Linked DNA regions of Homo sapiens: region 2 is linked to region 1. Evidence: promoter capture Hi-C in 16 types of primary human blood cells and fetal thymus (Javierre and others, 2016). All regions are on one chromosome and are shown on one strand. The core of a region is centred on a gene start or on the middle of the fragment in contact, and the rest is flanking DNA. Distances in the headings are between cores, read along the strand shown.

What was found. Contacts are between HindIII fragments. The CHiCAGO score rates a contact against its expected background, and 5 or more counts as called.
Region 2: a contact is called between the fragment with the promoter of PWAR6 here and the fragment with the promoter of PWAR4 in region 1, in 5 of 17 cell types (neutrophils, monocytes, non-activated CD4 T cells and 2 more). The highest score is 5.7, in neutrophils.

The regions. Positions count from the first base shown.
Region 1 is chr15:25,209,881-25,213,640 of GRCh38, forward strand. It overlaps PWAR4 (Prader Willi/Angelman region RNA 4), which reads left to right and starts at 1,812. Exons shown (of 1, transcript NR_022010.1): 1 at 1,812-2,153. It overlaps SNHG14 (small nucleolar RNA host gene 14), which reads left to right. Exons shown (of 148, transcript NR_146177.1): 102 at 1,727-1,858; 103 at 2,244-2,289; 104 at 3,579-3,710. It overlaps SNORD115-23 (small nucleolar RNA, C/D box 115-23), which reads left to right and starts at 1,916; the gene lies at 1,916-1,997. SNORD115-22 (small nucleolar RNA, C/D box 115-22) reads left to right here and starts at 38; the gene lies at 38-119. The HindIII fragment of the contact is 4,906 bases long and covers 1-3,760 here.
Region 2 is chr15:25,029,955-25,033,714 of GRCh38, forward strand. PWAR6 (Prader Willi/Angelman region RNA 6) reads left to right here and starts at 1,919. Exons shown (of 1, transcript NR_146168.1): 1 at 1,919-3,760. All of the region lies in intron 23 of SNHG14 (small nucleolar RNA host gene 14), which reads left to right. The HindIII fragment of the contact is 7,287 bases long and covers 1-3,760 here.

The DNA.
Region 1 (3,760 bases), core at 562-3,061:
TCTGGATGTATGCATGGGGAGCGGGGTGCACTGGGTTGGGTCAATGATGAGAACCTTATATTGTCCTGAAGAGAGGTGATGACTTAAAAATCATGCTCAATAGGATTACGCTGAGTCCCAGCCTAGGTGACAATTTTGGAAGTGGACACTGAGAATCACAAGGACCCTGGCAGGGCCACTGTATTTTGGGCTGGAGACCTGGAGGCCCTCAAGGGCCTCTCACAGGGACCCAACCCTGTCTCTGCACTCCTCCGTGAAGCACAGCAGGCTCCCTGTGCGGACTTGGTGTTGGCACTGTTTCCCAGGGGCAGGGCACATTGGTGGCTTTTCCCTGAGTCCCCATTCTTGCCTTGTGTCTTTCAGTGAGCTCTTCAGCTCAGAAGGGCCCCTTCACCTTGATTAGCCTAGGTGAGTGCATCCTGCTGGTGTCATGGGCCATGAGTCAGGCCGCGTGGGGTCACCAAGGGTCAGTCTTTAGGACAGGAGGGTTTCCTCAGGGAGCCAACCTGTATTTCCACCGGGGAGGGATGGTTTCTACAGGAGGGCGGCTTCCTTGGGAACTGGACCCAAGATGTTGCCTTCCTGAAGCCCTGCAGGGATGACAGTGGTCCAGGCAGCAAAGACTTCCTTCAGCCCCGTGCAGGAGAGCTCCCAGCTGAGACTCAGTGCATGTGTCAGGCCTCGAGGATTGCCGAGGCCACATGATGGGGGCCACAGGGCCTCCGGGGCACCACGGGGGTCATGCAAGAGTTCTCTTTCCCTGGAGAGGGGTGCTTGAATGAGCCTATGGGATTGGGCCGTGGAGATTCAAGGATTGTACCCAACTATGTCCCAAAATGGGACTGACCCTGTTGAGCTATGGACCATCCCATGGTGCCTCTTTGAGCTTGGTGGGGGGCAGTGCTGTTTCCCTGGGTTTGGGTCAAGGCTGAGCTCTGGCCAGTGCCTGGTGAGGCTGTGGGCCGGACCTGGGACTCGTGAGCTTTAGGCCAAGTCGACAGCTTGTGTCCTGCTGGAGGTCACCCCTTCCCCATGGGTGAGTGGCTGGAAGAGTGGAATGTGCGGTGGGAAGGCCCGCTGTTGATGGTCCTATCCTGAGAATTTGCTGCCCAGACTCTCTGTGCCATGGGGTCATGTCCAGGGTGGCAGGGTCTTGGGCCTAGGGAAAGGAAAGGACACCATGTGGCCCAGGATTGGCCAAGGGTGGCCCGGATCTGTGTTTGGGACATGTGTGGGGCATGGATGGGGACCCACCAGAGAAAGCACATGGCCCTGGTACTCCAGGCTGTGATTTCAGGTGTGGCTTGGAGAGAGTGCCTGGGCAGGTGCCCACCATGCCCAGCGGCAGGCTATGCAACTTCCATGTCCACGGTGGCACATGGCTTCTGGGCCAGGCTCCTCGGTTGGCCATGAGCATGTCGGTGACCCTGTCCCATGCTCAGTGGTCCTGGGGCAGCCCTGGGATCGTGTGAAGGAGAAGTCAGAGGGGGCACTGGATGTGCCCTCAAGGTCTGCAATAGCATGAAGACCAGGGGTCTTGCCCAAGCCCAGTGATCCACCTGCCCTGTTTTTTCAGGGTTTGGTGATGGGGAGGGCCGAGAGTGCCCTGTATCCGTGACAGGTCAGTGTTCCACATGGATCCCATCACATGGGTATCCCTTACCCCATTCCCCACCTGGAGGTATGAGGCCCTGTTTGGACACATGTCCTCCTCCTGTCCATCCAGATGGTGAGCCTGAAGGAAGACTTGCATCAGGACCAATGGACCCTGGCAAGTGTCCGTCAGCCAGGTGCTCAGCCCCTGGTGCACTGAAGCTCAGGCCCTTCCTGGCCCCTTGATCTCCTGCACTGAGCTGTGGTGAGCACATCCGGGTCCCGCTGGATGTATGTGTGGGCAGGGGGGGTGCCCTGGGTTGGGTCAATGATGAGAACCCTATATTGTGTTGAAGAGAGGTGATGACTTAAAATTACCATGCTCAATGATTACGCTGAGGCCCAACCTAGGTGAGAAATTTGGAGGAGGATGCTGGGATCCCGAGATTTCCGGCAGGGCCACTGTATTTTGGGCTGGAGCCCTGGAGGCCCTGAAAGGTATCTGGAGGAGGCCCAACTCTGTCTCTGCACTCCTCTGTGAGGCAGCCCAGGCTCCCTGTGCGGGCTTGGTGTTGGCCTTTCTGTTCCCCAGTGAAGTGGCACGTGGGTGGCTCCTCCCTGAGCCCCAGTTCTCCCCTTGTGTCTTTCAGTGAGCTCTTCTGCCAAGGGGGGGCCTCCTGGCATTGACCAACATAGGTGAGTGGATCCTGCTGGCATCATGGGCATGGGTTCACTGAGGGTCAGACTTCAGGCCATGAGGGTTTCCTCAGGGAGCTGACCCCAATTCCCATCAGGGAGGGATGGTTTCTCCAGGAGGGCGGCTTCCTTGGGAATCTTACCTGAGGAGGATGCCTTCCCTGAAGATCTGCAGGAATGACAATGGTCCAGATAGCAAAGGGTTCCTTCAGCCCCATGCAGGACATCGCCCAGTTGAGACTTGGTGTGCAGGTCAGGCCTTGAGGACTGCCCAGGCCACATGAGGCGGGCCAGAAGGGCTCCAGGGTGCCACGGGTTTCACTTGGGAGCTCTCGGTCCCCGGGCATGTTCCTGGGGGGGGTGGTGATGGGGTCGGGCCATGGAGGTTCAAGGATCTCATCCCACCTGTGACCCTGAATGGGGCTGATCCTGTTGAACAATGGGCCATCCCAGTGGCACGTATTGAGCCTGGTCAGGGGTGGTGCAGTTTCAATGGGGTTGGGTCAAGGTTGAGATCTGGCCAGCTCCTGGTGGTGCTTCAGGCCAGTCCTGTGACCCATGGGCTTTGGGCTAAGGGGGCATCCCATGTCCCATGGGGGTCACCTGTTCTCCATGTTTGAGTGGCAGTAACAGTGGCATTCTGAGGTGGGAAGGTCCACTGTCTAGGGTGTTGTACCGGGAATTTGCCACCCCGCCTTCTTAGCCAAGGGGTCACCTCCAGGGTCTCGGGATCTTGGGCCCAAGGAAACGAGAAGATACCATGTGGCCCTTGATTGGCCGAGTGTGGCCCAGCTCTGTGTTTGAGAGGTGTGGGATATGAATGGGGTCCCACCAGTGAAAGCTCATGGCCCAGGTCCCCAGGCTGTGATTTTTAGTGCACACTTGGGGAGGGCTCCTCAGTGGGTGCCCACCACGCCCAGAGGCAGGCTATGTGACTGCCAGGTCTGCAACGGTGCATAGCTTCCAGGCTACCCTCCTTGGTTGGCTGGGAGCGGGTTGGTGGCCATGGCCCATGCCCAGTGGTCACAGGGCAACCCTGGGATCATGCAGGGGAGCTGGTGAGGGCAGTGGAGGTGCTCTCCGGAACGGAAGTATGGCTCAGCCCAGGTATCTGGCCCAAACCCAATGACCAGCCTGCCTTGTTTCTCAGGGTTTGGTGATGGGGAGGGCCAAGGGTGCCCTGCATCTGTGATGGGTCTGTTCCACATAGAACCCATTACAGGGGATCCCTTCTCCACATGGAGATGTGAGGCCCTATTTGGACACATATCCTCCTCCTGTCCCCCCAGATGGTGAGCCTGGAGGAAGATTTGCATTGGGCCCAATGGCCCTGGGCCAGTGTCTGTCAGCCAGTTTCCCAGCCCCTGGTGCACTGAAGCTCAGGCCTTTCCTGGCATCCTGGCCTCCTGCACTGAGCTGTGGTGAGTATATCATGGTCCTGCTGGATGCATGTGCAGGGAGGGAAGGTGCC
Region 2 (3,760 bases), core at 669-3,168, 180 kb before region 1:
ATCAGTATGCCTTAATGTAAATAGCTGCATATAGACCTGATTTCTTAGGCTCCCCACTTCAAGCTCTTGAATATTGTGTTGATATCCTTATCAATACACTTTGTCTTGTGTTCTGTGTTGTTTTTCCAAAATATAACGAGCTCCTACTTGACAGGGATTTTTTCTTTCTATTGTCTTACGATAAAATGTCAAGATAAAAATGTATGAGTTTCATTAAAGTTTATTGAATAAAATTTGTGATGGAATGAGTGACAGCGAGGTCATGAATGAGAGAGAATATGGAAATAATGGAGAATGTGATATTCTGATAGTCATGCAATATTCTTTTTGATATAATATGTAACATATATTAGTATGTTATATTCTATGTATTATTTGTCATATATTATTACTATATCCTGTTGCTATATTTGGATAATTTGGGAATCTGCCATGTTTGATGATGTTGAAAAGAGAACATAAAATGTAGTGATTTCTTAATAAGGTGTAGAGGTGTAGGTATTAACTCTTTAAGAATATAGTGATTTATTTTAAAATAATGATAGGAAAGGACCATAAAAATGTCTGAATTTGGGAAATTAGAAAATGTTTTCTCTCTGGGGCTTTCATATGTCTGTTCTATGTGAATGTCGCTTTGCCATGGCTCCCTCTTTGCTAACTCTTCTTAACCCCTGCAGAGAAGGAAGTGTAGTGATGGTATTTTGAGTCCATCTTCAGGTTTATTGGGAATGCAAGGGAAATGAGTTGTTACCAATGGGAGTAAAGGGCTAGTTGCTATGCCAGTAGCTGCTACTTTTGACACTGCTTGAGCAATCTGAATGGCTAGGTTTGAATCTGGCTTCTCAGTCAGAATTTTACCTTCACTCTAATGCTGCTTTTTTTCAAATCACCTATATTTACATAAATATGAACCAACTTCAGTGATCTTAATTCTTTCCCGAAGATCCAAGTTTCTTTCCATCTGCCTGAAGAACTTTCTTTAGCACTTCTGGTATAGCAGACCTACTGATGATAATTTTTCTTTTAGTATATGGTGATTAGTTTACTTTTTATTCAACTGTGTCTTTTTTTGAAGTCTTCTTCATTGAAATATATTGTTACTAAATATAGAATTAATGGCTTTCTTTAAGCACTTCAAAGATAATCCACTGTTTTCTGGACTCCGTTGATACTTAAGTCTTTATTTTTGTGTAATTCTTTTTCTTTAAATGTGCCATTTTTCATTTTTCTCTGACTCCTACCTACTAAGATATTTTTACCTAAGTATTGAGTCAGTTTTGGTTATGATGTGACTCAGTGTGTTTTTATTTATATTGTTTGGTTGTTTGAACTTCTTGAATCTGTAAATGTTGTGCTTTATGTTAAATTTGGGGGGATTTCAGCCATTTAAAATATAACTTTTCAGTCTCTTCCCCCTGGGACTCCAATTTTTACATATGTATTAGACCTATTAATATTTTTCTATGGATACCTGACATTCTTTTTAAATCTTATTTTTGGTGTTTTTCACTTTGAACAACCTAATAATTTGTTTCCATCCATGTTCACTCACTGTTTATTCTATTTTTTCCCAATCTGCTCTTAAGCCTATCCTGTGAATTTTCTTTTTAATTTATTTTATTTTTTAGTTCCAGATATTTTCTGCTTTTTGTTTGTTTTTGAGACAGAATCTTTCTCTGTCACACAGGGTGGAGTGCAGTGTCATGGTTCACCGCAGCCTTGACCTCCTGGTCTCAAGTGATCCTCTCACCTTAACCTACCCACTCCTAAGTAGCTAGAACTACAGGTGCATGCCACCACGCTCAGCTAATTTTTTATTTTTGTAGAGATGGGGTCGTTGTGTTGCCCAAGCTGGTCTTGAACTCCCAGACTCAAGCAGTCTTCCTGCCTCGGCCTCATGCCCGCGCCAACCAGTTCTTTATTTTTAATATTATGTTGTATTTGATGTGCTATCCTATTCATTTAGTATAAGCACATTTTTCTTTATGTCTTCAGCATAATTATATGCTTTTTCAGAATTTTAACATCAGGACTGCTTCCAGGGTAGCTTTATTGCCCTTTGTCTTAAGTATGGATTATAGTTTTCATTCTTTGTATGTCAAGTAATTTTGGATTGTAACTTGAACTTTGAATATACTGTAGAAACTCTGAATTCTATTTTATTCTTCTAAAACAATATTTCTCAGCTTCAGCACTACTGACATTTTGAACTGGGTCATTTTGTTTGTGTTGTTGTGTGTATTTTGGGAGGGTACTGTTCTATATGCATTGTGGGGTACTGAGTATTATCCTTTGTCTCCACTCACTACTTACCAGTAGCATAACTCTCTCTCCTCCCCACATCCCCTGCCAAAAAATGCCTTCAGTCCTTTCTAAGCGCTCTTTTTTATGGTGTTGGGGCCAAAATCATGCATCTTTACTCACTCTTTCTCATTGAGAGCTATGGCTATAAAGGGTAGTGATACTTTTACTTATTTATTTTTAAGGCAAGCAGTTAACTTAGCTGGATTCAAACTCCAGGCTGCCTCGTGTGCTGTGGGAAGCAGCCTACGCTCTATTCAGTTCTTTTCTTTTCATATTGGTTGGGTTACTTTGAGTCTGGCCTACATGATGGGCAGTTTAGAGGTCAACCAAAGGATTTCAGCAGAACTTATACACAGAATTTCATTCAGGCTTCCCGTGTCTGATTGGCTACAGTGTGGGAATTTCCTCCCACTTTTCAGCCACTACTGAGGATGCCTTTCGGCAAAATTCCTTGAAATTGGAAACTTACAGGGAAATTCCTTTCCTCCAAGAGTGCGCTCTCCTCCAGTGTTGGCTTGCTTTTGGTTGTTCTCCGTGGTTTTAGATAGCTGTCTTTATATTAATTCTGGAGTTTACAGTTGATATCTGTTGGGGGCTTAGTTTGATAACATGTATTCTTCTATTACTAGTAGCCAGACCTGTATGTCTTACTTGACCTGATGGAGAAAAGTTTCAACTTATGAGACAATACTGTGCTAGCTAGTTTTACTGATTTGTACTCTAAAGTACCCAAGCCTAAAATAGTAGAGCTGTCTATCCCACATGAAACTTCTCTGATTTTCACTGTTTTTTATAAAAAGTATACATGTTCACATTTCTGTAGGTTTTTTTAAGCATCACAATTTTTATAAACTTTCTATATTTCCAAGGTCTACCTGCTTTGTATTTTGCCTAGTGAGAGTTTTGTATTCATGTAGGAATAATCTCTTGGTGTGAGTATCTATTTTCCACTCATCCAAAACAGATAGAGCATTGATTTCACTAAGCGTTATGTTCTAGTTTGCTTTGGTATTATTATTAGAAATACCTGGTGATTAATTTGAGCTAAGTATTCTTCTCTACCCTCATTCCCAGCATTATCACCCGCTTTTACCACTTCCAAGGGGTGGAAGCATTCTCCACAATGCATTTTTTCATGCCAGAGAAAAATCTAGAAAAAAATGAATAAAACGAAGAAATTCTTTCCCCTTGGTATCTGTAGCTAACTTGCCTAAGTGTTCTTTCCCACAGTTTAAGTCTTCAGTCCATAGTTCATAAGCAAAGGGGTGTAGCGAGCTCTGATCTTGCCAGAAGAGAGAATAAGTGAGCTACCCCACGGTGGACATTCTGGCCATCTGAAATGAGTCGATGCATGTGGCTTTTGTCTAAAGGCTACAAATAAAATGTAACCACTTTCTTCTTTGAGTAGTTGATATAGCAAATAGTTGAAACAGAAGTTTTGATTGGCAAATCAGGA